2 separate regions of the Homo sapiens genome follow, and region 1 is linked to region 2. Evidence: promoter capture Hi-C in 16 types of primary human blood cells and fetal thymus (Javierre and others, 2016). All regions are on one chromosome and are shown on one strand. The core of a region is centred on a gene start or on the middle of the fragment in contact, and the rest is flanking DNA. Distances in the headings are between cores, read along the strand shown. Region 1 has its middle 63 kb from the start of MAPRE2. Region 2 holds the start of INO80C (INO80 complex subunit C).

Region 1 (4,372 bases), core at 88-2,587, 520 kb after region 2:
GCTGGTGTGGTGGCTCACTCCTGTAATCCCAGCAGTTTGGGAGGCCGAGGCGGGTGGATCACCTCAGGTCAGGAGTTCAAGACCGGCCTGGCCAACATGGTGAAACCCCATCTCTATAAAAATACAAAAATTAGCTGGGCATGATGATGTGTGCCTGTAATCCCAGCTACTCAGGAGGCTGAGGCAGGAGAATCGCTTGAACTTGGAGGCGGAGGTTGCAGTGAGCCGAAATCGTGCCAGCCTGGGCAACAGAGTGAGACTCTGTCTCAAAAAAAAAAAAAAAAAAAAAAAGAAAAAAAGAAAAAGAAAAAGAAAAGAAAAGAAATTGAGGAAGGGGAAGAAAGCATTTAGACAACAGTGCAGAGAGTGATAGTGATATTAAAAATAGTGAAGAGGTATTAAAACTGAAAGAAGAAAAAGAAAGTTTGTTTTTTGATGACTCTAAGATAACCTGTTAAAGATACAGAGAACCAGAGATAACAGGTTATCCTGGAGTAATCCTTTTGGGATGACAGTTTTAAAGGCAAGAAACCTTTGGTTAATAGCCAACATGAGGTTTTATATAAAATGTTAAGTGTAACCATTTCTATTTAAATAGATCATTTAATTCACTCCTGGATGTATAATCAAGTAGTATTTGACTTTTTTGTATGCAAAATTTATGTGTTACATATTCATCCTTTCTGCTTCACATAACTGAAATAACCCAAACCAGTTTACACTTTCCCAACAGTTTTTTTTTTACATGCTTCCCACCAAGAAAGTTACAGGATGTCTAGTTAGCTTTGTGTTTCCCCTTCTAACAGAAGAGAGCATTATATGAAACAGGCAGAATGGTGTGCTACAAAGGGAGTGGCTCCTGCAAGCAAGTAGATCCTGATCAGATATTAAATGTGCTTTCAAAGGAGTGCAGTTTGTGCGTGTCAACAAACTACTCGCTGTAATTACTTCCTATTCACTGGGATCGCTGTGCAGCCTGCTGACTCACCAGGCTGCTGGAGTATGTTTCTGCTGGGTTTTCCTACTGACTGCTACACATGAGTCATCACAGGAATGGAAGTTTCTATCCGTCTCCCTTAACAACAGTGCAGAAACCAGGCATTGAAGTAAGCTTCGATTTTTCCAATCAGACCCTAGCCAGGGAAGGGAAAAATGTTGTGGTAGGTGTCACCACCAGCTAGGCTGCTAGATGACAGTTCCCCGCCCCAGGGTGTTAGTCATCGGCACTCCAGTTTCAGCGTCTTTTCTCTCACCCACCCAAGTAGTTAAAGTGGCATCTTGTCTTGCAATGCCTGCTGCTGCTGGCCGCTGAACTCTTCCTTTGCTGTAGAGTTTCCCCAACTTGGCTGCACAATGAAGTTACCAGGAGTTGTTTTTGCTTTTAAATACTGTGCCTATTTCTCACTCCCAAACAACCTGATTTAAATAGTTTGGGATGTGATCAGGACATCAGGAGTTCTCAAAGCTCCCCAGATGATTCCACTATGCAGCAAAATTTGAGAACCAGTGCTTTGAAGAAGCATAGCTCTACCCACGCAAGGAAAATTTACCAGTTAAGCTTATCTACCAATCACTCGGTGAGCTCCCGGACCTCTTATCTTACCCCTAACTGATGTCTTTAATCAGTTTGGCAGAAAAGAACGAAAGCAAAGTAAGGAAGCATTTCATTTCCAGAGGGGACACTGGCTAACCAAGAGCCATACCCCTTTTTGCTTGATAAAAATTTGGCCAAATTTAGCGTTCAGGAGAAGCAGGGGAAATGTTGCCATTCTTCAGATTACCTTTTGATCTCTGTTCTGTTTCATTCCACAGTGTCCTATTCAGCAAAAGTGTAAATCGCGGGTCCTCAGATTAGAAGTAGGTGCTGCGTCTGACCACAATCGCAACCGGTCTGCACACTTCACCCCAGCTGGGACCGAACCTCCGCCTCGCAGCGCGGCCCCAGGGTCGATACTATGCTAATCAAGGAAGTTCTTCCGTTTCGGTGCGCGCGGGCGCGGGTTTGAGCGCTTAACCCTTCATTCTACATTGACAGCACGATAGTATTTTTAGTGACCTCTTCCTGCCTAGCGGGTCTACACTATTTTCCTTTTGTTCTTCTTTTTTTGGAAAAGGAGATGTGAACAAGTGATAGAGAAGACAATCAGGGAGGGGACAGCAGTGTTGGCTGGTGCGGAGGTGAAGGAAAGGCTAATGTTCGTAATATTAATTACTCCCAGCGCTACTGACCCAGCGAGGACTAGCAGGAGGGGCTTGGGGGTTAAGACAAAGGCTTCTCCTGATCAAATGGCTGCAGCGCCCCTTCTCCGAGGTTACGGCTCTGCCCTTGGCACTGTATTGACGAAGTCACTGGAGGAGTGACCAAACCCACTAGCCCTTTTGGGGTCTGAAAATCAGCTTTATCGAGCGCCCCAGGTTCAGAGGGGACCGCTTTCCGCGTCCACCCCTCTCCTGGCTCTTTGTGGGATTTCTGGCTTCCGCATAGCCCTTCTAAGGGTAGACCGAAGAATTTCCCACTAAGCCGAGTGCGAAGTCGCTGAGTAGCCCTCGCCCTGCGCTCCCGGGGCTCCCTGCAGAAGAGATGCTTGGGCGCAGAATAACAACCCGCTTCCTTTTGCACCCACCCGGCTCCTGAGTCCCGGGAGCGCGGATGGTGGCCGGCGTCGGAGTGGGAGAGTGGTGGCTGCCGAAGGGGAAGTGCCCGGGGTCCAGGGGATGCTCCCAAGCGCGCGAGCGCCAGCGCGCTGCACTTCCTGATCTGCCCCCAAGCGCGCAGCCCCTGCCAGAGCCCCCAGCTCTCTCAGTGCCGGCGCCCCAGCTAGAGCCTGGAGGGTCGTGCGCCGCGGTCGCGCAGTCGCGAGCCCCCCTCCTTCACCAACGCCGTGTTCCTACCCTGGACAGCCCCAGCCTCACCCCTCAGAACCAGTCCACTTCGCTTCTGCCAGCGTGGCAGCCCCAACTCCCTCCCTCCACTTTCCTGGGGTGCACAGAGCTGGGGCACCGAACCAGAGATGTGGCCCGCGGGAGAGCGGCGGGGTGCACACCCGGAGACCGCCTAGCCGACCCTTGCACAACTTCTTGCTAGACTCTGGACCCCCGGTTCCGGTTGCTCCGAGCCCCGCGGGCTGCAGACCTCAGCGGCAGGAGGAGGCGCAGCCAGCCCCTGGCCTGGGAGGGACTGCTTCAGTGCAGGGGGTGTCGGGGTGCGCCAGGGCGGTACCGCTTTAAATGCACTTGACTCACCTGCTCCGGCGCTGTCGCCTCCTTCCTCTGCTGACAGCTGGGGGCTTTGTTTTCTCCACCCACCCGGCCGCCGTGCTCCGCCTCCTCTGTCGCACGTGACTCGCAGTCTGCCACCGCCGCCGCCGCCGCCGCTCCGGGAGTCCACCCGAGAGAGTCCGGCCAGCGCCGCCCCTTCCCGCGGGTGCGGGTGCGGGTGCGGGTGCAGGTGGGCGCCCCACTGGGCAGGTCCGAGCCGACCCGCCTGAAGACGCTGTCTCAGGCCAAAGGAAGCCAGGCTGAATTCGTGACAGGGAAGAAAGTGCCAGCGGGTGAAATAAACTAAGTGGTTTGACCCCGCTCGAGAGGGAGGAGGCCGGCGCGGCTTGCAGAGGGGGCTTGAAAAGGCGCCGCCACACTGTGAATTAATTACCTGCAAACGGGGGCTTGCACACCAACTGGGGTGCATCTGCTTTTTACACCCAGTGTTTGTACTCCTACCTGGAGCACGATTGATGATAAGGGGCAAACTAGTTTTGTCATGAATATTACTAATTAAACTAGGCAATTCTAATACAATTAACAATTTAATAATAGCGTGTTTTTGGGGGGTTTCAAATCTGCTTGTTGATGCTGTTGATATTTGGGTTCTATTTGGAAAATGGAGTGCAGGCTGGAGAAGCGAACTCCAGAAGTCTACTGATGTGGGCGCTTGTCCATTTGGAACAGCAGCTATTTTTAATGAAATGAGAAAATGTTCTGGCTTCAAGACCCAGCTCAAGATCTGCTGCTTTTGGAAGTGGTCCCGACCGGTGCTGATCGCAGTGATCTCTAGTGTTTGAAACAGCAAGGATTTGTCTGAATCCTTCTGTTAGCCCTTGGAAAACGCATTATATACCTTCCCTCCTGTGCCCTACACATTGCTACTCAGGGGAAAGATTGTCCATGTCTCCCCCAGCGTTCGTTAAAGCCAAGTCTTCGTAGTGGAGTGATTTAGCACAGTGCTTCTCAAAGTTTAAGAGGGATCACCTGGGGATATTGTTGAAGCCAAATTTGAGCGTGTCGAGAGTTAGGCCTGAGATTCTGCATTTCTAGCAAACTCCCAGTTAATGGCATTGCTGCTAGTTTGAGGACCACACTTTCAGTAGAGAGG
Region 2 (4,271 bases), core at 1,537-4,036:
GGCTGGGGAGAGTATCAACTGAGAAGAGCAGAGGGCCTTGGACCAAGCACCAAGGAACTCTCAATATGTAAGGATTCTGTGCAAGAGTCTGGTTTCAAACCTGGCTGATCATTAGAATCACTTGGGAAACTTTTAAAATGTGAATCTACAGGAGCATGTGACTATATATTTTGAAAAACCTGTAGTAGCATTAGAGACCATTTGGTAACAGAAGACTGGCCAGGAAAGAGGAAAACAAAAAGATGGTGATGTTTCAGATACCAAGGGAAGAATTTCAGAAAGAAAGGAATCAGACAAGATCAGGCCTGAATTTAGTAACAGGAAACCAGATGGCGGTGCATCCACTTGTCTGACTCCTTAAAAGTAGGGAGTTGGTGTTTGAACTCAATAAGGGATGACAGGAAGCAGCCCAGCAGGTCCCCCTGTGCTCACGTGCACAGCGTGAGGACAGGGAAAGGGAAGGGGAAGGAAGGTGTGTCAGATGGCAGAAAGCTTTTCATTGGAAGTAGCATCTGAACTGAGGCAAAATGGATGGTAATCAGGCAAGGAGCTAAGCATTCCCAGGAGAGGAAATAATAGAAACAAAAATATGACAAGCTAAGAAAACATATACATTCTAGGAAATAGAGTTAGTCCTTGGCTGGAACACAAGGAATTAAGTGTTGGGAACCAAGCAACAGAATGGGGCACAGCCCAGTTGTTGTTGTTGTTGTTGTTGTTGTCGTTTTGAGGCGGAGTCTTGCTCTGTTGCCAGGCTGGAGTGCAGTGGCACGATCTCTGCTCACTGCAATCTCCCGGGTTCAAGCGATTCTCCTGCCTCAGCCTTCTGAGTAGCTGGGATTACAGGCGCATGCCACCATACTCAGCTAATTTTTGTATTTTTAGTAGAGACGAGGTTTCACCGTGTTGGACAGGATGGCCTTTATCTCCTGACCTTGTGATCTGCCCGCCTCAGCCTCTCAAAGTGTTGGGATTACAGGTGTGAGCCACCGCGCCCGGCCCAGAGCCCAGTCATTAAGGACCTTGTATGACAAGCCAAAACGTTCTTACCCTGAAGGTAAAAAAAAAATTTTACCCTGAAGGCAAAAGGGCCCTGAAGAATGTAAGAAAGTAAGTGGTATGATTATATTTGTAATTTAGAAATCCCATTCTGGCAGCCAGTGTGAAGGATGGTCTGGGGTCAGGAATGGATAAGGGAAAGATGGCGGCCGAAACGTCCATCTGGAGGCTGTTGCTGAGATGTAGACATGGGATACAGATTCACCAGGGCAGGAGCCGTGAAGGAGAGAAGCGAGCTGAGGAGGTGAGGAATGGGAGGAGGTGGGGACAGTAGAGTTTGCTTAGGTGACTGGCTTGTTGGAGGTGAGTCCTTGAGTTAAGGAATGAGGAAAAGACTAGCTTTAGATGAGGATAGGGATGGAGATGGGGTGTGGGAAAGAACATTTCAACACTGGTAGGCTTATTCCTTTCTCTAAAGGAAAAAATATGTCAGTAACAATATTGCAAGTTTCCCTAACTGCTCCTTCTCTCTCACCTCTAAGTCATTGTGCAGCCTGTTTATTTCAAATATCAAGACTCATATACATCAACTTCCTGTATTCAAACATAGTAGCTTCCACCAATCACTGCAGGGAGTTAGTTCATTCGTTAAATACATCATTAAAAATACTTATAATGCACCAATGACTTGCAAGGTACTGTGATTGGGGGGACTGATAAGTTAACAAGACATAACTGACCCTTCCCTCATACAGATTACATTCTAGCAGGAGCCAAAAAAGACATTAACCATCCGATTATAAATCATTTAGTTATATGATGTCGCAAAGGTTCTGTAAAAATATAGGGTAGAATGAGGCAAAGAACAAGGCGGGTAGGGGGACTCAGGTTCCTAAATAGGTTTTAGTAGATCTGTGACCTCCCTGAAATCTGTAAAATTTTGTCTGTGTCTGTATACATTTAATGGGGTGGTGGGGAGGTGGGGGTGTGCGGCAGGGATAGGAAGCACAGATTCCATGCTCAAGAGTCTGTGAATCCTAAGAGATTAAGAACCGGCCGGGCGTGGTGGCTTACGCCTGTAATCCCAGCACTTAGGGAGGCCGAGGCGGGCAGATCACCTGAGGTCGGGAGCTCGAGACCAGCCTGACCAACATGGAGAAACCCCGTCTCTACTAAAAATACAAAATTAGCCGGGCATGGTGGCACATGCCTGTGATCCCAGCTACTCGGGAGGCTGAGGCAGGAGAATCGCTTGAACCCGGGAGGCGGAGTTTGCAGTGAGCCGAGATCGCGCCATTGCACTCCAGCCTGGACAACAAGAGCGAAACTCCGTCTCAAATAAAAGAAAAAAAAAAAGGGAGAGATTAAGAACCACTCTACCCTTCATGTCCATTTGGGCGCTATTTATATACAAACCTTTTCCGCGTGGGAAGGCAGGGAGGGATAGAGGGAGAAGCCAGTAGCTTGGCGGTCTACTGAGAACGACCCCAGCTTTAGGCTTACAGACATCAAAAGTAATCACTCTTCTATATGAGAAAAGACAACACGCTCATTAATTTTTTAAAACGTAGTTACTTAAAAAGATTGGGAGATTTTCTATTCCTCTATCAATGGGGATTTCCAGGCACGTGCCCCACCCAAGGCCCACGCCCAGAGCGCCCGAGTGGCAGGACAACGCCCGCTGACATCTTCCCGTCCCGACGGCACAGGCTACTCCGAGCTCCGCCTTTTAGATTGCACCGAGAGAAGCCAGCTACAGCTTGGAGTCCAGGCCGGGTTTTCAAGCATCAAGACGGAAGTAACAGCGGAAAGGAAGTTCCAAGGCCCGCGCTGGGAAAAAGGTGGGGGGACCAGGGGAAGACTCGGAGTGCGATGGCGGCGCAAATTCCAATTGTGGCCACCACTTCCACTCCCGGAATAGTCCGGAACAGCAAGAAGAGGCCGGCCAGCCCTTCCCACAATGGCAGCAGCGGCGGGGGCTATGGCGCCAGTAAGAAGAAAAAAGCGTCCGCTTCCAGCTTTGCGCAGGTACGCAGTCGCGCTCCCAGGCTGCGCGTGCGCGTCGCGAAACGGGACTTGGCGGGGCGGAGCCGAGCCAGGGCGCGTGCGTAATGTGGGGCGCTGCGCGTGCGGTCTCCGTTGGGGTTGAAAGACGCTGCCCCGCGGAGTGAATGACTACTCTTTCCCTTCGTTTGGACACATGGGCTTACAACGCCTTGTGTTGTAAGGAGAGAAGAAGAAGTAGGGAGGTTATTACTGACTTAGTATTAATAGAAGGACTGCCTCTTCCCCTCGAGGTCGCCTTTAGCATGAGGTTCAGGACTAATGAGTGTCAGTCATTCAGAAATTTGCGTGTCTTCCCCTCGTCCATTCTGCAGACATCTACCCAGTGTCTTTGAGGCGCATAGCGCTGTAATGTCCTGCATGGATGAATACAAGATGTATTGATAAGTATGCTTTCTCTCATCCTGAGAAAAGTGCTTTTTTGACCCTGGGTTTCCCAATCCAAAGGCAGGTTTGGTCTTAACTCATGGGCTTGTTAAGGTTATGAAGTAATGAGTGTAAAGGCACTGAGCTCAGCGCCTGGCTCAGACGTCAGGGCCTCTGAACAATCTAGGTTCCGTAATTCCAGCAATGAATTTTCAGCAGGGAGTGGCTTGATTAGTGTTTTCTCTGGCTCCTGCATTTTATTCAAAGCAAAAAAGCAGAGATAGAGTGTGTTACTTTGTGCTCCTCAGCATATGGTGTGACACCACCGTTCACCCAGTCAGTCAGTGGCTGTTCTAGAAATCTTGTTCCTTCTTCTGTAGGTGATTGGTAGTGCTTTTTATTTTAACCTTTTAATATTAAATACTTTGCTATAGTAAGATTTACACAGAGTACAATGCACAAATTTTCAAGAATACTGGCTGAACCACAGATCTTCAAGAATCCTGTCTCACGCCTGTATCCCAGCACTTTGAGAGGCCAAGGTGAGAGGATTGCTTGAGGACAGGAGTTCGAGACCTGCTCCCCAACCCCCATCCAAATTTACAAATAGCTGGGCGTGATGGTGCACGCCTTTAGTCCCAACTACAAGAGCATCACTTAAGCCCAAGATTTCAAGGTTACAGCGAGCTATGATCGTGCCATTGCAGTCCAGCTTGGGCAACAGAGTGAGCCTATCGCAAACAAAACAAAACAAAACAAAACTACAGATCCAGTGCCCTTTTACATTTGTATACACCTATGGCCACTGCCTGGATCAAGATAGCATTTCTAAGAGCAGGTGA

What was found. Contacts are between HindIII fragments. The CHiCAGO score rates a contact against its expected background, and 5 or more counts as called.
Region 1: a fragment that was not itself captured here is called in contact with the fragment with the promoter of INO80C in region 2 in 1 of 17 cell types (activated CD4 T cells); the score reaches 5.2 in activated CD4 T cells.

The regions. Positions count from the first base shown.
Region 1 is chr18:34,975,951-34,980,322 of GRCh38, reverse strand. It overlaps a transcript of MAPRE2 not described here. Among named protein-coding and RNA genes, the nearest start is that of MAPRE2, 63 kb to the left of the region's middle. RefSeq lists enhancers at 1,401-1,900, 857-2,056, 1,901-2,402 and a silencer at 3,218-3,497. The HindIII fragment of the contact is 447 bases long and covers 1,114-1,560 here.
Region 2 is chr18:35,496,475-35,500,745 of GRCh38, reverse strand. It overlaps INO80C (INO80 complex subunit C), which reads left to right and starts at 2,786. Exons shown (of 5, transcript NM_194281.4): 1 at 2,786-3,027. The coding sequence starts at 2,872. RefSeq lists enhancers at 2,609-2,878, 3,229-3,348, 3,619-3,768. The HindIII fragment of the contact is 4,638 bases long and covers 495-4,271 here.